6 separate regions of the Homo sapiens genome follow, and regions 1, 3, 4, 5 and 6 are each linked to region 2. Evidence: promoter capture Hi-C in 16 types of primary human blood cells and fetal thymus (Javierre and others, 2016). All regions are on one chromosome and are shown on one strand. The core of a region is centred on a gene start or on the middle of the fragment in contact, and the rest is flanking DNA. Distances in the headings are between cores, read along the strand shown. Region 1 overlaps SRBD1 (S1 RNA binding domain 1). Region 2 holds the start of LRPPRC (leucine rich pentatricopeptide repeat containing). Region 3 has its middle 4.3 kb from the start of TRI-TAT2-1. Region 4 holds the start of SRBD1 (S1 RNA binding domain 1). Region 5 has its middle 4.8 kb from the start of PRKCE. Region 6 has its middle 1.5 kb from the start of COX7A2L.

Evidence for each region. The method cuts DNA at HindIII sites, captures the fragments that hold promoters and counts their contacts. A CHiCAGO score of 5 or more calls a contact.
Region 1: a contact is called between a fragment that was not itself captured here and the fragment with the promoter of LRPPRC in region 2, in 7 of 17 cell types (total CD8 T cells, naive CD4 T cells, fetal thymus and 4 more). The highest score is 15.2, in total CD8 T cells.
Region 3: a contact is called between a fragment that was not itself captured here and the fragment with the promoter of LRPPRC in region 2, in 1 of 17 cell types (non-activated CD4 T cells). The highest score is 6.2, in non-activated CD4 T cells.
Region 4: the fragment with the promoter of SRBD1 here is called in contact with the fragment with the promoter of LRPPRC in region 2 in 2 of 17 cell types (naive CD8 T cells and non-activated CD4 T cells); the score reaches 6.2 in naive CD8 T cells.
Region 5: a fragment that was not itself captured here is called in contact with the fragment with the promoter of LRPPRC in region 2 in 1 of 17 cell types (total CD8 T cells); the score reaches 5.1 in total CD8 T cells.
Region 6: a contact is called between a fragment that was not itself captured here and the fragment with the promoter of LRPPRC in region 2, in 7 of 17 cell types (monocytes, naive CD4 T cells, non-activated CD4 T cells and 4 more). The highest score is 14.6, in monocytes.

What each region holds. Positions count from the first base shown.
Region 1 is chr2:45,565,658-45,568,804 of GRCh38, reverse strand. All of the region lies in intron 9 of SRBD1 (S1 RNA binding domain 1), which reads left to right. Among named protein-coding and RNA genes, the nearest start is that of SRBD1, 44 kb to the left of the region's middle. The HindIII fragment of the contact is 581 bases long and covers 1,178-1,758 here.
Region 2 is chr2:43,994,662-43,997,583 of GRCh38, reverse strand. LRPPRC (leucine rich pentatricopeptide repeat containing) reads left to right here and starts at 1,595. Exons shown (of 38, transcript NM_133259.4): 1 at 1,595-1,785. The coding sequence starts at 1,637. RefSeq lists enhancers at 1,318-1,597, 1,393-2,044 and a silencer at 1,698-2,017. The HindIII fragment of the contact is 4,663 bases long and covers 1,416-2,922 here.
Region 3 is chr2:42,813,287-42,816,383 of GRCh38, reverse strand. No RefSeq gene overlaps it. Among named protein-coding and RNA genes, the nearest start is that of TRI-TAT2-1, 4.3 kb to the right of the region's middle. The HindIII fragment of the contact is 1,788 bases long and covers 605-2,392 here.
Region 4 is chr2:45,610,011-45,613,122 of GRCh38, reverse strand. It overlaps SRBD1 (S1 RNA binding domain 1), which reads left to right and starts at 1,856. Exons shown (of 21, transcript NM_018079.5): 1 at 1,856-1,904. RefSeq lists an enhancer at 2,036-2,205. The HindIII fragment of the contact is 4,677 bases long and covers 473-3,112 here.
Region 5 is chr2:45,645,247-45,648,428 of GRCh38, reverse strand. No RefSeq gene overlaps it. Among named protein-coding and RNA genes, the nearest start is that of PRKCE, 4.8 kb to the left of the region's middle. The HindIII fragment of the contact is 810 bases long and covers 1,176-1,985 here.
Region 6 is chr2:42,361,254-42,364,084 of GRCh38, reverse strand. It overlaps a transcript of COX7A2L not described here. Among named protein-coding and RNA genes, the nearest start is that of COX7A2L, 1.5 kb to the right of the region's middle. RefSeq lists enhancers at 2,128-2,217, 2,778-2,831, 2,207-2,831 and a silencer at 2,408-2,577. The HindIII fragment of the contact is 1,989 bases long and covers 264-2,252 here.

The DNA of each region.
Region 1 (3,147 bases), core at 219-2,718, 1.6 Mb before region 2:
AGAAGTAGTTTTTCTGTCTTATTTTGTCCACCTTTTATGTTGATTTAATTTTATTGCAACTTTGGAAAAACATTAATGCTTTTATTCTGTTAAAACCTAGCCTTCTAATTTCTGCTTGAAAATATTTTATTGGGCTCTGCATTTTAACTAGTGTGTGTAGCAAATGTGGCATTCTGAGTTAGTGACTGAATTTAAGATTATGATTGACACAGGCTTCTGGGTGTGACAGTATTCAGGCCTGGGAAAGCAGAGCATTTTGGAAATGTCAGTTTTGAAAAACAGCACTGCTGTTTTACGAACTTTTTAGTTTATCATGTACAGGCCGGAGTGATGATATGCTAGGTTACAAAAACAGCTTCCCAATTCCTATAGTGCTGAGACCTCATGTCCTAAATCTGAACCTTACTTTTCAGCCTTTATGTAGATAACCCCAGCACAGTATCACAGAACACAGAAATGAATGCAAATGATGAAAGACAGTGTGGTGAAGGAAAATTACTGTGGAACTCTCTCCAAGTACTGTGGGAATAGCCGTTAATAGCTGCTTAGTAAATTCTTCCAGCTGCATCTTTTTTTCTTTCTTTTTCAAATTGGTCCTTAGTGTGATCTTTTCTACCACATGAATTTGTAACTCAGTCTTCACATTCTCTCATGGGACTTTCTGTTCCTTATCTTTATTGGTGTGTCTTTTTACTGACGTGCAATTTCCTGTGTCTTAACTACCTATTTCCTGTTCAATGTCACCATCTGCAGTAATTCCGCTTTAACCCACTACTCACTTTCAATTTCAGTTTCTGTCCCAAGCTTTATTATTTCTGTTACCTTATTCCCTTCTCCACCATGGGTCTTCCTGTGTGTCAGGATTTTTTGTAAGTTTGACGTATTACATTACTAGGTATGGTGAAAAAGAGCAAAAAACCTCCAATAATGTATTGTGATATTATGGTATACTTATGTAAATCGGAATTAAATAACTCTCCTCTATATTGTTGTACTCTACTTAATTTATTAGAGAAAATTTCTTGTATGAAGAACTTCTGTTTACTAAGCTGGCACAGCCTATAGCAAATACGGAAGTCTCTGCTGAGCTCAAACTGAAGTTTATTTTGTATTCACAATTTATTTCTTTATAGATAGTTCTGTGCAGTATTATTGAATATATTGTTTTATGTAAGCTTACTTTTTTTTTTTTTTCTTAGACAGTATCTTGCTCTTTCACCCAGGCTGGAGTGCAGTGGCAGAATCCCACCTCACTGCAAGTTTCGCCTTGCGGGCTGAAGGCATTCTCCCACTTCAGCCTCCTGAGGAGCTGGGACTATGGGCATGCACAAGCACACCTGGCTGATTTTTGTATTTTTTGAGAGTTGGGGTTTCGCCATGTTGCCCAGGCTCATCTTGAACTCCTGAGCTCAACCAGTCCTCCTGCTTTGGCCTCTCAAAGTGCTGGGATTATGAGCATGAGCCCCCATACCCAGCCGAAACATTTATTTCTAAGTGATTGTTCTATTTCTGCTGATGTTTACTTTAGAAATTTCTCAAGTATATAAGAAAAGAAAAAAGTCCCCTATATAATTTTTTTAAAACTCTGACAATTTGTTTGATATTTAAAATTTTACTCAATATTTTTAAAATTTAAATTAAAGTTACAAAAAAATACGCGTTTTATCTTTTGACATTCTTTTCAACATGAAGCACAAATTGAGAAATTTTCGTGGTAGAATTATTTTGTGGTAATATTAAGTTGAATTATTCTAAGCTTGTTTCACCACAGATAGGAAGTCTAAGTTTTTGTTAGAGATCCTCATGGAAATGTGCTAAAATTGTTAAAATATCAGTTTGTGTCCTGTAAAGGGAGAACTTAGTTTATTAAAATCCCATTCATTAAGAGTAATTGGAAGAAAGCCATTAAGAATTAGTGAGAAATCTGAATATATGTTGAAGTGATGTTGTTTAATTTTTAATATATAATATACATAAATATATAGTTACAGACTAGCAGATATTTAAGGGAGGCTGTTAACTTGATTAAATTATTTGGTTAATTTGTGTTACTATTTATCATCTTAATAATTGGTATTAAAGAGTGCTTTAAGAAAAGAGTGTTTTAATTTTCTAATAGGTTTATTGAAGTAAAATTCATATTGCATTTAATGCAACCATTAGAACTTTGTAAGTTCAATGGTTTTTCGTAAATTCACTCAGTTGTGTCACCATTACCACAAGCAATTTTAGGACATTTTTCTCCCAAATATTTCCTTGCATCAAGCTCTAGGCAGCCAACTTTCTATCTCTATAGATTTGTCTGTTCTGGTCATTTCATATAAAGGAATCATACAATATGCAGACTTTTGCCGCTGGTTTCTTTCACTTAGCATAATGGTTTCAGAGTTTGTCTGTTATGGTATGTATTAGTATGCCTTTCCTTTTTATTGCTACGTAATATTACATTATATGGATTCTCCACATTTTACTTATCCATTCATCAGTCAGTGAATAGTTTGGTTGTTTCTACTTTTTGGATATTATGAATAATGCTATGAACATTCGTGTCTAAGTTTTTGTGTGGACATATGTTTTTATTTCTCTTGGATATATACCTAGGAGTATAATTGCTGTGTTATATGGTAGCTTTACATTTAACCTTTTGAGGAACTGCCATATTTTCCAGAGTGGCTATGCCATTTTTACATTCTCACCAGCGGTTTGTGAAGGTTCCGATTTCTCTACATCCCTCCCAACATTTATTGTCCATCTTTTTGTGTTTTGATTTGCATTTCTCTAATGATGCTGAGCATCTATTCATGTACTTATCAGTCATTTGTATATAATTTTTGAACAAATACCTCTTCAGATCTTTTGTACATTTTAAATTGGGTTGTGGCCAGGCGCGATGGCTCACGCCTATAATCCAAGCACTTTGGGAGGTTGAGGCAGGCGGATCGCCTGAGGTCAGGAGTTCGAGACCAGCCTGGCCAACATGGTGAAACCCCATCTCTTAAGAAAATAAATAAATGAATAAATTGGGTTTTGTCTCCTTATTGTTGAGCTGTAGGAGTTTTAAATATATTCTAGATACCCTTATGTGACATATGATTTGCAAAAATTTTTGTCCCATGCCGTGCATTTTCTTTTCACTTTCTTGATACT
Region 2 (2,922 bases), core at 346-2,845:
ATAGTGTATGGCACTGGATATGTATTCAATAAATACGTGTTGAATAGGTGAATAACTTGTATTCCCAGTGCTCAGTAATATAACCCAGAGTCAATCAATTCACCTTGTTTCTTTTGGGGGCTTGGAGCGGGTGTCTTCGTTCCCTCATCTCTCAAAGGAGAGGTGAGCTAGGTCATCTCAAAATAGACATTAATTTAACACATATTTAATGAGACCTACTGTGTGTCTGGCACTGGGTAGGTGTATGGCCTACAATAAGAGATCACAGTCCCTACTGATAAGGAGTTCGTGGGATTAACTGATAAGGAGTCCAGTGGGATAAACAGTCACTTCGGAAATGACCGTGGGAGGGCTTCCAGAGGAAATACCCGCCGCGTTTGCCTCGTGATAGGTAGGGGACAGGCAGGTGTAGAGGGAGTGGAAGGCTGTTCTCAGCTTCCCACGTGTGCACAGGGAACCGATCCAGTCTGTAAGCCCTGTGAAGGCAGCGACGTGGTTTTTTTGTTTTGTTTTAGACAGAGTCTCGCTGTGTCACCCAGGCTGGAGTGCAATGGCGCCATCTTGGCTCACTGCAACCTCCACCTCTCGGGTTCAAGCAATTCTCCTGCCTCAGCCTCCCGAGTAGCTGAGATTACAGGCGCCCGCCACCACGCCCGGCTAATTTTTTGTATTTTTAGTACAGATGGGGTTTCACCATGTTGGCCAGGCTGGTCTCCAACTCCTGACCTCAGGTGATCCACCCGCCTCGGCCTTCCAAAGTGATGGGATTACAGGCGTGAGCCACTTCGCCAGCGATGGGTTTAACTTGCCAGTTTTCTCCCCATATTTGGCTGGAGACTCTTAATTACATTGTTCTTTTACTTCTCACATGTATATGTGCATTTACTGAAGGGAGAGGCGCGGTAGGGGTGGAGGGTTGGGGAAGAGAGTCAGTTCAATTCCAGCTTTAAAACTATAGGATTTTTGGTAGAATTCATTTATTTTCTAAAGCGAGGCCCCGCGTACGCGCTTAGGGTGGGGACCTGCGCGTTCCTTTACACTGTTCCCAGGCCCTGATAATCCACATCCTATCATGTTGAACCTGGGAGGCAAACGGCAAGGTGCAAAAGACCTCCACGGTTTCTCCGGCCCGCGTTTCTGAGAGTGAAGGGCCGTTCCTATTGGACATGGCGTCAGGGCTGAACGTTAGCAGCAACATCTGCACTCGGGGGCGGGGGAAACCTTCCCACGTCCTGGGATCTTCATAGTCGGCTCTCCTCGAGAGTTCTCGGTATTTTTACTAGTTGGCCTCCCACAAGCCTCTGCGCCAACCTGGGAGGAGTTGACCTCTTGCGGCTCTACCAACAGAGGAGTGCAGGGGTGCAGCGAATGAACACGATGCCCAGATCGGAGACGGAAGACGGAAAAGAAAAGCTTCGATAATGAATCAAGCAACATCGTTTATGTAAATATTACATTGGGTCTTCTGTCCTCGGAGAAGTGCGGTTTTCCATCTTCCAACCTAAAACAATCCGTCGCTCCCCCCACATTTGGCACGCCCGGCAGTTGGTCTCTGCCGCGCCAGGCTACCCTGCGGTCACATGCTCCTCCTGTCCTTCTGGCGGAGCGTGCTTCCCGCTGCGGGGACGTTCGAGCAATGGCAGCCCTGCTGAGATCCGCGCGTTGGTTGCTGCGTGCCGGGGCGGCCCCGCGCCTCCCGCTCTCCCTGCGCCTCCTCCCTGGCGGCCCGGGCCGGCTGCATGCCGCCTCCTATCTGCCCGCCGCTCGCGCCGGGCCCGTGGCCGGGTGAGTGCCCAGGCCCTTTCTCCAGGCAAGCTGCGGCGCCAGGGTCCCCCGGGGTCGTGGGTGCCGGCAGGGACCGGGTCCTGCCTGTGCTCGCCACCCTTCTCCCCGCCCCAGGACCTAGCCTCCCCGGGCTCCGCACCACGCTCCCTACCAGGGGTTTTCGGGTGACAGGGTTAAGCGCCTTCAGAAGGTCACGGCTGTGGGCATGGCCTGCCTCCGGCTTGAATCCTGCCCCCGCCACTTCAGCCTGGACCTTACTGCCCTCGGGGTACCCATGGTCAACGAAGATGAGGGGGGCTTTGAAGACTGCTTTGGGAAGTCGGGTGGTGGTCTTTTCCTTACACTTGGCCAGCTTGGGTGGTGTCCCACGTGCGGTCACCGTTGGTGATCAGTAACCACCTAGCATTTAGATATTGGAAATTTAGCTTTTTGCGAGGGATGGGGCGGCGAGGAGTGGGTTGGGAGTTTGGGTGAGCCACGGATGACTTAAAGCTGGACGCTGGATTATGATCACTTTGGGCTTTTGCCTGCGTTCTCTTGAATGGAGTTTTCCTTCAGCATTTAAGAAGGTGTTGCGCGAGTTGGGCTGGAGTGCAGTGGCGCGATCTCAGCTCACTGCAACTTCCGCTTCCCGGGTTCAAGCGATTCTCCTGCCTCAGCCTCCCGAGTAGCTGGGATTACAGGTGTGCGCCACCATGCCAGGCTAACTTTTGTACTTTTAGTAGAGACTGGGTTTCACCATGTTGGCCACGCTAGTCTCGAACTCCTGACTTCAAGCGATCCTCCTGCCTCGGCCTCCCAAAGTGCTGGGATTACAGGTGTGAGCCACCGCTCCCGTCCTGTAAGTGTCTTTGAATGAATGAGCACATGCAAGGCACTCTGTTGGAATCTGGGGATGCAAAGGCAAGTTAAACTCTAAGTGGGTGTCAGATAGGCGAATAAATGCTCTCATGGTTTGAGGTTTATCAGAGATAGGTTTGGTATAGACTTTTGTAGTGGAGGGGAAAAGAAAAGTTGGTGAAAGTGTTCATTTGGTTATTAATAGTATTCTGACCACCAGAGAAGGGGAGATAGGTGCTGAGCTTTTAGCATTGGAGAAAAAATGATTTTGAAAGACTGATGCTTGTAAATTAAGGT
Region 3 (3,097 bases), core at 249-2,748, 1.2 Mb after region 2:
ACAAGACCCCATCTCAAAAACAAAAAACAAAAAAATACTTCACCAAAGAGGATATATTAATGTCTAATAAGCATATGAAAAGCTACTCAACATTATTAATGCAATTCATTGTACATAAACTATAACTCAGAAAAGCTTTAAAATTTAAAACTTATTGGTTATCTTTAGAAATTATTAGGGAATCAAAGATTGGTGGAAAAAGAGAAAGAATCAAGAAATTATCCAGTCTTTCTTATGTGAATTGTGCTTCCATAGTCATAAATACAGAAGGAATAATAGAATTAGAAAAGCACCATTGGGGAATCCTCAATAAAAATAATAGATTTAGACCAAGATAATCAACGGCTGCTAAAACATTAGGTTAGAGGCTGGTGAAGGACTTTATAATGGATGGATTCAGCCAACCACGCTGATGAAGGATTAGAGGCTGATGAAGGATTTTATAATGGATGGATTCTGCTGACCATGCTGAAATCATCAATCAAAAGCCATATTTCTAAATGTGGGACAGCCAGACATTATGTACTTTCTTTTGTGGTGCAATAGCACACAGTACCATCTAGAATATATTTTGGGGGAAAAATAATCTGAATATTATAAAGCTTCTAGATATAATTGCCATGAGGGATTGAAGAACATGGGGCTGAAGAAAACCTTGAGCATGCAATTAGCCAAAATCTGTGGGAAATTCTAAAGGTCAACAAAGAAATGTCATAAAAGGGGGTGAAAAGAGAGGAAATTCGAATAGATTAAAAGAGATTTATCCTTTAAATATCTTAAAGGATACACCAATCAAATGCCAAGGACAGCCCATATTTGGATCTTGATTCAAACAAACCAATCTTCTGTAAAAATATTTTTCAGAGATATGGGTAGCAATTTGAAAGCAGATGAGGTATGAGATGAAGCTAAGTAATTATTATTACTCTTGTTGGGTGTAATAATGATACCATGGTTATGCTTTTTTAAAAAAGTGATTACCTGTTGGGTATATATGCTGAAGTTTTGACAGGTTAAATTAAACCATATCTAGGATTTCCTCTAAAATATTCCAGAGGTAAGGGGTGAATGTTGTGGGAAGGATATAGATAAAACAATGTTGACAATTCTTTAAAAGTGGAAACATGGGGGTTAACTATACTGTTCTCTCTACTTTTGTGTATGTTTGAAATTTTCCATAATAAAGAATTGGGCTTTGGTTTCGTTTTGTTGAATTTTAAATGAGCTTGTTTCTACAGATCACAGCCCTCTGGCTGTGTTCTGACCTACTGAGAGTTCAACAGGATTCCCTCCCTTTACCCATATGGAGGCCACACACTCAATATCTGTAGGGTACAAATGACTGAAATGAGCCTGGGATAAAGAAAACAGCAAAGCAAGCCAGTGAATCAAGGCAGCTGGCACCTACCTCTGTGTTGGAGAATAATGGAGAGTGACAGGGACCGTGGCAAACCGAAAGCCACATACACATCCAAGATGGGCAGTCAGTCTTGCCATATAGGAATAAGGGCCCCAGATGGCCCGGCTTTTTTTTTTTTAGACAAGGTCTCACTCTGTCTCCCAGGCTGGAATACAGTGGTGTGATCTTGGCTCACTGCAACCTCCGCCTCTCAGGTTCAAGAGATTCTCCTGCCTCAGCCCCCCGAGTAGCTGGGACTACAGGCATGGCGAATTTTTGTATTTTTAGTAGAGGTGGGATTTCGCCATGTTGGCCAGGCTGGTCTTGAACTCCTGACCTCAGGTGATCCACCCGCCTCAGCCTCCCAAAGTGCTGGGATTACAGGCGTGAGGCACCACACCCAGTCCTGACTTTTCATTAGAAACTGAAAATCTCGGCATTTCTGTGAAATCTCCCAATATGGAGGCAAATGATTTTTTTTTTTTAATGTCAGCACTTTGCAAGTTAGTGCTGGAAGGCCAAACAAAATCTGTCTGCAGGCTAGATTTGTTCCATAGATGGCTGGTTTGTGATCCCTGACACCACAGCATCTAATGCATTATATAGTAATGCATTAATAATCAGTTGACATTCTTAGCAGTTGGGTCACACTGCTGGCACAACCGAGGTTGCACACATCTGAAATCCCCAGATCTTTTACATGCAAACAGCTGTCAAGCCAGGCATCCTCACACATGGAACTTTGAACTGAACATAGACTTACAATTATCTCTATGAAAATTGCATCTTATCATTTGTCAGAAACATTTGCCTCCAGATTGGCTCCACTCTTCTTCTAAATTCTACTGAATCTGCACTCCTTTCAGGCTGTGTCACCCCTAGCTCTGATGAGCCCTTCTTCATCCAAGCATTCTACAAAGCCAAGGTCAGCCTGGGTTACATCAGGTTTCTCTCCTGCTGGGGCCTGGGGTTGTTCAGTTGTCACTTCAAGCTTCCTTCGCAGTTTGGTCACTTCATACTTACCCACTTCCTTCTTGAAGCCACTACACAGTATAGTCAGGCCTAAGCCAGTGGTCTGATGCTAATAAAAATGTCATAATACTTTGTGGTTTTTAAAGCATTTTCCCATATTCTGACTTGATTTTTTTTTTTTTAATTGAGACAGAGTCACTCAGGCTGGAGTGCAGTGGTGCAATCTCAGCTCACTGCTGCCTCGACCTCTTGGGCTCAGGTGAGCCTCCCACCTCAGCCTCCCAAGTAGCTGAGACTACAGGCGTGCCTCATCACACTGGGTTAATTTTTGTATTTTTTGTAGAGACAGGGTTTCACCATGTTGCCCAGGCTGGTCTGGAACTCCTGGGCTCAAACAATCCTTCTGCCTCAGCCTCCCAAAGTGTTGGAATTACGGTGTGAGCCACCATGCCCTGCCTCACTTGATTTTTATCACCCACCACAACCTTAAAAAATTCTATCAACATCACTTTAAGACACTGGGCCACAAATAGGCTCAGAGTATGTTTGTTGTTTATGGCCTAATCAATAATTTCGTAGCTGAAGATTTCTAAATTAAGGAAAGAAGAACTAGTTTAGCTTCCTTCCAACCCTACCATCTTATCAGGAAAACAGTTCCTAAAGCCACTGCCATTCCAGCAGTAACCAGTAGGGACAGAAACAATATTGAAGAATGTTCTAACCATA
Region 4 (3,112 bases), core at 607-3,106, 1.6 Mb before region 2:
AAACAACCTCCATCAAATCCAAAACATGTTTTCATTACTCCCAAACCCTATTGCATAGTCTCAGGTGGGTGTCCGGATTATTCCAGGCTTTCAGTCTAAACCCATGAATTTCTTGGAATTCAGCACTTGAGATCCAAAAGTAAACAATAGATTGGGCAATGTCCTAGACAGAAAAGGCAGTTTTTGTGGGAGGGCCTGTTTTATACTTAAGTGATTACAAATTTTCCTTGACAGCGTGTAGTGGGAGTGACTCTCTTATAGAATTCCAAGGGAAATATTCTCTGGACAGTCCTTATTGGCCTTTAGAGTAGGCCACTACCTACATACTTTAATTTTAGAGAACCTGCTTCAGATTTTATTTTCCCCAGATGTCTGATGTCTAAAATCTTAACAGGCTATTTATTTTTGTGATTTTTTTTTTCTTCCCCAGCTGTAAGGCAAAAATCCCTTGTGGGGAGAGGAAAGTCAAGCTTCAATGCTTTGCTGGCCCACTCTTACTCTCCTCCTCACTGTAGTGTGGCTACTACCTGCATACCCAACCCTTGAAGCTAGACTGTTTTGCTTGGGTGTCTGTTTCCTCTGGCTGTATCTGGTTCCTACTCTTGGTCGTAAATTCCTCCAGGGCAGGACTTATGTCAAAAGACTTTGCAGTATATTAGTTCACCTTTACCCTTACTACCTCTGCAATGATTGGAATGTCCCCTTCAAAAATTCAAGTTGAAACTTGTCATTGTAATAGTATGAAGAGGTGGGACCTTTAGGAAATGATTAGGTCATGAATGAGTTAATTCCATTATCACAGGAGGGTTAGTTATTTCGGGAGTCAATTGGGTTCACATGCCTCCCCCACCCCTACCCCAGTATGATGCCCTCCATCATATTTTGACACAACAATAATGCCCTCTGTCTTGGACTTCCCAGCCTTCAGAACTACAAGCCAAACAAATCTCTTTCTTTATAAATCTACCAGTCTATGGTATTTGGTTACAGCAGCAGAAAATTGACCAAGACAACCCCTTACCATAAACCTGAGTAGCAAATGCAACATCAAAAGTAGGTGAATAGTAAGTAGTACATTATTGTTGTTGATTTCTATGATCTGGTTTCTCTTCCCACAATCCTGAACGGTAAGGTGTTCTCTAGTATTTCTTCAGGACCATAAATTGTGAAGGAGACTGTGATTGTAGTAGACAATTCTAGGCCTTCTGGAACCATCACTAAAGGCAACATACGACTGTGCTAATTAAAAGGAAAAAAAAATCCCTAAACAATCTCGGAAACTGATCTTTCCTGGCCAACAATCTCAGATATAGAAGATTAGATTTACTAAATTTAGAAAGAATCCTTTTTTTTTTCCCCCAATCACAAAAATTATCCAGTAAAATCTATGCTCACTTCCGGTAGATCTGCAACAAGGCACGGTCACAGGTCATTTCAATAACTTGCTAGGCTCTTCAGTACTCAGAGTCCCTGGAAATAAGTCATTAGCAGTGGAAAGCTGCTTTTTAGAATTTTCTAAAACAAATCCATGGGGTTTTGATCTGCTAAATTCGAATGTAGACAACAGCAGCCTTATTTCCCTACTTTTATAATCTAATTTATTTGGCTGTATCTGTGGGCTTAAGAGTTTAGTGTTCTTGGTAAATAACACGTAAAAAAAAAGTCATTTTTCATTTCTACGAACCAGCCCCACCCCGGCGCTCCCTCGGGATCCTCGCTCTAGCCCCGCCTCCGTCCAGCCTGGCTCCGCCCCGTTCGGTAGCGCCGCGCCTTGGAGGTCTGTGGCTAACTTGGTCCGGAAGAAGCGAGGCGGACCTTCTGGCGTTTGAAAAACTTCCGGCGGGAACCGGAAGGTGCGGTGGCACTCACGGAATCTCGGGTCTTCTGACGTGCCGGGCGGGAAGGTGAGCTGTGCGTGCGCCTTGGCGGTCGTCTTGCGGGTTCTCAAGAGCCCGGCGTCCGGGCTCCGGGATCTTTGGGGCCATTAAAAAAGTTCTGAGCGCTCATTTGGGCAATAACACCCCTTTTTTAAAAGTGAGAAGTTCATTACATTTTACTGTCAGCGGTCTCTCACAACCGACCACCCGAAAACCCCTCCTAGCTACCTCGTGACACCTCTTTTCAGCCAAATTGCTGCAGCTCTTAGCGCATAACAGACATAGAAAAGCCTGGGCAAGCCTGTTTTTTTTTTTTTTGAGACGGAGTCTCCCTCTGTCGCCCAGGCTGGAGTGTAGTGGAGCGATCTCGGCTCACTGCAAGCTCCGCCTCCCGGATTCACGCCATTCGCCTGCCTCAGCCTCCCGAGTAGCTGGGGCTACAGGCGCCCGTCATCACACCCGGCTAATTTACCTGGATTGTTTTTATACCTAAAATTATCGGAGGTGGGAGAGGAAGCACCCTTTTCACGGTCATGGTGGCCCTGTCTGAATCAACTGCACCTTCTGTAGTGCGCCTGGCATGTAGGAGGCGCTCAGTAACCGGAGGAAAGGAATGAATTGGGAACTCTCTAGGCAACTTTCCTCGAACCCCTCACGTGACATGTCATTAACATATTGTGTGTGGAATGGGAAACGAGACTAGTCTTGGTGTTCCAGGCACTGGGCTATAGTCCTTTGCCACATATCTTTCCCCTTTGAGTAAACTGTTTCACCTCATTGGGTCTCAGATTTCTGAATATAGCGGGACTGTCTGATCTCAGGTTCTTTCAGCTCTAGTATTTTGTTTTTGTGACTTGGGAATCTGCTAACATTCAAGCACTCTGTTGGTCCTTCATGGAAACTTGTTTAGGTGCTTCTTAAGAAATTGTCCTCCTTTGTTTGCCTTCTTGAATTTAAATTTTTTTTTCCAATTTTAATTTAGTATTTGTTAGTGTGCACGTCCTTTTGCCCCTTTGTCCTGATTTGCAGTCGTCCTAGTTTAGTGGCTCTTCCCTTAGTAACATCATAGCAACCTCCAAATTATTGGTTTGGAATATGCTCATGTGCCTACAGTGATTAAGATAGTTTGAAAGGAGGGAAAAATCCCAAGTCACTGAAGAATAGGAATATTCTTATGTGCCATCACTTCTTCAGAAAGAGATGAATGCAATGTGTGGCATTGCCTAAGAGTGGTG
Region 5 (3,182 bases), core at 331-2,830, 1.7 Mb before region 2:
GTCTCCAATCCCAAAGGATAAGACAGTGGTTAGCATATACATTGAGTAAAATGACCTTTGGATTCCAACTATGGCCTAGTTATTTCATAATCTTTGTGAGAAGGAAGAAAATGATACAATAATTTAACAAAGATGACCAAAATGGAGCCTTTCTCCTTTCAAAATTAAGGCTTATGAGAAAAGAATAGAACAACAGATGTGGCCAGGACAGGGCGATCAGTGTTGCAATAGGTCTATGGATGGGAGTGGCACAGAAGAAGGATCACCCCTTTGCCTGGGGAGCCTGGGAAGGCATCAACCAGCAGAATCCTTTGAGCTGAGTCTAGGCTTTCCAACAGGAGTTCTTCCAGCAGCAAAGAGGGAAGGGAAGGGTACTGGCTGCAAAAAGTATAATGTGTACAGGTAGGAAAGCCATGACTCTTCAGGTAAGCGGCCAGGTGTGCCCCACTTGTGGCAGGTAGTAACAGGAGATGAAGTAAGTAGGAACCTGATAGTTAAGACCTCAGAGGGCCTGCAGATGGGTCTCAACTTTTTCCTGGAGAGACACCAAACATTCCAGCGGGCAAGCAGCATAACTAGAGTTAATACTTTACAAAGGCGATTTTGTGATGGATAAATATTTTTCTCTTCTGTAATTTTCCTCCAGAAGGCTCACCTCAAAACAGGGTATTAGACAAAGAGAAGATCCAAGTCTGAAGATGATTTACACTCTGTATAATCAAAATTGAAACTGTCTGTGGATACTGTTTAGATCAGCTGGAGGAAGCGGGGAAGGGGGAGCCAGAACCGTAGACTAGCGCGTTAATATTCATGTCCCTGTTGCTGTGCTGGTTGTTGCCATTTATAGAATGTTAATGGGCTTCTGCAAAGGTCTGCCTGGTCAGGGTCTATCATACATTCCACACATGCTCCGCTGAACAGAATCCAACCACCTGGGCCATGGGATGGAACGCGCAGCAGTATAATGACACAGAAACCTTCTAGAGCTCCGCTGGTCCTGCCCCAGCCTAGCCCCCACCCGACCCTGAGCCCCACTTCAAACTTTGCCCCACACCTATACTCCTGTGGTGGGCTTTTGTCTGCCCTGCCATGTCTTCTTATTTTGGCCCCATCTCAGCTCCGAATTCTGGCCCCATCTCTGCTCTATATTCTGTTGCAGTGACTCAGGCCAAGCTTCACTTAATACCTGCAAAGAGGTGGAGGGATCAGAGGCAGCCCTATCGAGCTTGCTGATGGATGCAGAAGGAGATGGCCTGGTGCCCCTATTCCTCAGGGCCTGTGACTGTGAGCCCTACTCACTAGGATGCCATTTGGAGAATAGCATAACATTCTTCATCTTCTGTGGGTCAGATGTTGGGTTGTGTCTTGGGATTTTTTTTTTATAAGGGACAGAGTCTCACTCTGTTGACCAGGCTGGAGTACAGTGACACAATCACAGTTCACTGCAGCCTTGGCCTCCCAGACTTGAGCAATTCTCCCACCTCAGCCTCCTGAGTGGCTGGGACTAAAGCCATGTGCCACCATGCCCAGCTAAAGTTTTTTGATTGTTTTTGTAGAGATGGGGTCTCACTATGTTGCTCAAGCTGGTCTTGAACTCCTGGACTCTAGTGGTCCTCCTGCATCAGCCTCCCAAAGTGCTGGGATTACAAGTGTGAGCCACCGTGCCTGGCCCCTGTCTTGGACTTTTAAGATCATATGTCAATCCAAGGGTCTTTACTAAGTACTTGCTATATATAGGATACTAGGGCAGGTGCTCCAGGGAGGATAAATAGCTATATGGATAATCCCTACTCTACCTGGGGAGATGAGTAGATCAATTCAGTCGGTCCTTTATTTAACAGTCAGTAGTGTCATGTCATGTCATTTGGAGCACTAGGGAAACAAAAAATGACAACACAAAATGGCCCTTTATTAGTCAGGATTGGCTAGGTCATGCTGCTGTAATAAGCTCTCCCCAGATCCCAACACCTTAAAAGAACAAAGCTTTCTTCTCATGCATGCTGTAAGTCTATGGCAGGTTGGTTGGGAGCTCTGCTTCCCATTAGCGTCATTCTCACTTCTGGATCCAGGCTGGCTAAAAAGTTACCATCTGGAACATGGCTGGTCATGGGCAGAGAGAAAAAGGATGTCTGGAGGGTCTTACACAGGCAATTAAATAGTCCACCTGGTGGCTCATGCCTGTAATCCCAGCATTTTGGGAGGCCCTGGGTAGCAAAACCTCATCTCTACAAAATAAAATAAAATTAAATTAAATTAAAAAAACATAGCTGAGCATGGTGACGGGTGCCTGTAATCCCTGCTACCTGGGAGGCTGAGGTGGGAGAATTGCTTGAGGAGGCTGCAGTGAGCCAAGATTGTGACACTGCACTTCAGCCTAGGCAACAGAGCCAGACCCTGTCCCCCACCTGCCCCCCACCCAAAAAAATCCATCTGGAAGTGCTAAATATCATTTGTGCCCACTAATTGTTAGCTAGAACCAGTCTCAGATCCCGCCTTCCCCAACCACAGGGTCTGGGAAGTTCTACCATCTGTACTGTCAAGGAGCATGGAATGTTTGGTGAATAGCACTGAAGACTGCCATAGACACTATTCTCAAATGACAGGTGCAGAAAGGTAATTCAAGGTGGCACACAATAAATAACAAATAATCAGCCCACTCAGAAAGCACTATAGGAACTTAGGGTAGCAATAATCACAGTAAGAGTCAGACTGTTTGACCGTCCTCCCTCCCTTTTGCTCTGGGCCACTGCATACAGAAGACTCCAGATGACATGGAGAATCCTGCCTAATATCAGAACCAGCAGCCATCCAAGCTCCTTTCCCCTCCCCGTTATATGCTTAACACCTCATGGGACGTGCAGTTCCTTAAAGCCACTTTAGAACCACGGCAGCACAAAGGAGGCATTTGGGCCCAACAGAACTGAGAAGACTTACTTGTTAAACTCTGTGGGATTTGAGGGATCACTTGGTTTGTTTAATTAATTAATTAAGTTTTTGAAATGGAGTCTTGCTTTGTCACCCAGGCTGCAGTGCGGTGGCACACAATCTCGTCTCACTGCTGCAACCTCAACCTCCCAGATTCAAGCAATTCTCCTGCCTCAGCCTCCTAAGTAACTGAGATTATAGGCACACACCACCATGCCCAGCTAATTTTTGTATTTTTTTTTAGTACAGACAGGGTT
Region 6 (2,831 bases), core at 9-2,508, 1.6 Mb after region 2:
AATTTTTTAAAAGTCAGCTTGGAAAAAATGAGAGAATTTAAAAAATTAACAACTATTTCACAGTTGGTTCCTATCTCTACTCAGTATTACCCAATTTAAATTTTATGTTGGTTTTCCATCCATTCCCCAGGCGCTTTCACAGAGCGGCCTGCCAGAGGCCATTAGCACACACCCCTCACAAATGGAGAAGCAGCGGCATTCAGATTCACCAGGAGCTGGACTGGCATTTGCACTCACTCAGTTCACCTGGTGATTGGCAAGCTTCTCTACTCTGAGTCGTGGTCACTTCCCTTCAGAATAGAATGTGGGGAACAACCTGAAGGGATCGTGATAAAAAAAGATTGTCTTTGATGTTGGATGGGATATGCAAATACGAATGAGAATAGGGTGCCTTAGTACTGTCAGAGTGTGCTGTGTTTTATTTGGGAAATGAGACAAAATCTTCCCATGATCAGCCATTCCATGTGACATCCCAACCCACACTCTGCTACTGACATTTTATCTCCCACTGAACAGCCTGGCTGTTGTAACATTTTCAGGATTCTTAATTTATGTCTTGCAGGATCTAAAATCAGATGGCAGGAACTTTAAGAAAATAACCAGTGTTGACAGGCACCTTATAAAAGAAGCTGGTACACCTTAGTGCTGCTAAAAGTTAGAGAATATTCTTTCGTTTCTTCTTCCAAAATATGTCCAGAAGTCAGTGGGATGGAGACAGTAGCTGTCCCAAATCATTTAATTTCTCTTTTCAATCTAAACTCTATGAAAGGCTTTTTCTTTCACTCAATATTTGCTAGCGCCTGGGACTCAAGAAGGCTAATGTCAATGGATCATTTTCTTTTGAGGTAGTCGAACTTTTTGTCGTAGAAAAATCTTCCTGAATCTATTCAGTATCAAAACATGGGGTGGGCCTGGCACGGTGGCTCATGCCTGTAATCCCAGCATTTTGGGAGTCTTGAGTTTGGCAGATCACTTGAGCCCAGGAGTTTGAGACTAGCCTGGGAAACATGGTGAAACCCCATCTCTACTAAAAATACAAAAAATTAGCCAGGCGTGGTGGCGCGCATCTGTGGTTCCAGCTACCCGGGAGACTGAGGTAGGAGAATCACCTCAGCCTGGGAAGTCAAGGCTGCAATGAGCCGAGATCACACCACTGTACTCCAGCCTGGGACAGAGTGAGACCCTGTTTCAAAAAGAATTTAAAAAAAAAAAAAAAAAAAAGGAAATCACTAGTCCCAAACCACTTATCCTTGGAGAAATATGGACATAAACCCAAATTGCATGTTCTTTCCATTATATCACAGTGTCTCTTTGTAAAAGTGGCAACTTTGGGCTGGCTTACATGAATTCGCTGAAACCTTTACAACATATTGGCGGTGCTGAATACTTGGGGCTCTTGAACGTAAGCCTGCAACCAGGATGCTGGTGTACACCCTCACCCTGGAATGCTCAGCCTTGATCCTCCTCTTTTCAGAATGGCTTCATATCTATTTATTTGTAACATAGTGCTTAACAGTAGGAAGTCTTGAGCCAAATGCCTAGCTCTGCCACTTATCCCTGACCTGAGCAAGTTACTTAGCTTCTCCAGGCGTCATTTTCCTGTATTCTAAAATGGAGATGATAATAGCATTTACCTTATAGGATTGTTGTGAAGATTAAATGAGTTTAGGGCAATGCTATATATAGGTTAGTATCATCCATCAATTTGCAACATGATTTCATAAGTGCATCTAGAATATGCTTGTGTAAACCTATGGTTAGATGATGAAGCTAAGAAAAGCCTGAGTCCATCCCTGGAGAGTAAGAAACTAGTATACTCCTTTTACACAGTACCTTGCACACAGCACAGGCTTAACAGACATATTTAAATTGAACTGAAGCGAATACTACCAGAACTGAAAGTGGTAGTTCCAGATCTTTCAGGCTCAAGGTCCAGATTTTACAAGTGTTTCTGATCACCCTCCCCCTACCTCATTTATCGCAAAGAGCAGAGGCCAGGAAAAGGATGAATAATCAATGACCTTAAAACTCAGGTGAGAATAAAAACCAGTTCTGAGAAACCGTGTGACATTTACATCCTGGTACCTGAGCTTTAGATCACTCTGCATGTGTATTTCCTCTGCACAAAGCCCAGGAGGCTACTTTTATATTATTGGGGCAAATCTCCCAACAGCCCTGGGTACTAAACAGCCTTCAGCAGGTGCTTCCAAATTTTCTTATTTGCTTCAACTCCCAGGTTGCCAGGGGAAGCTTGGCCGACAAGTCTATACTCCTGGGCAGACTGAGCAACAGCAGGTGGTGGCTTCTGGATAAGAGGTGCTCTAGGTCGGAAGGAAATAAATGAGACTACGATCAGTTAAAGTTCGGTAAAGCAAGAGACGCCTTCAACCCGACGACCAGACGGTGGCTCCGCAGCACAGACTCTCTCGGATGGTGGAATTCCCAACCGGCTTCGATGTAGCCCCGCCCCTACCCAGACCACGCCCACCAATCACCGCCCTCTCCCCCCCAGGCCCCGCCTGGAGCCCGCCCCTCCTAAAGCATGCTCCACCTGACTCCGACACTGCCGGGCTTAGTCCGCCGGGCTTAGTCCGTGGAGCGCTTGCGCATTTCTTGAGTTGTCGTGGCACTGCCCAAATCTGAATGGGGGAAAGAGGGAACTTCATATTTCCTACAGACTCCGCCACAGCGACTTTGCGTGCTCTCTTAGAGCTGGTTTTGCCTTTCGTGGTCCTGAGAACCCTGGCTTTTGGTTCCCCAATGCGGCTTAAGTGTGCAGGTTTTAAGTTAGGCGATCTTCGGGCAGCCCTAGTCCCAGCACCGGGTCCTTG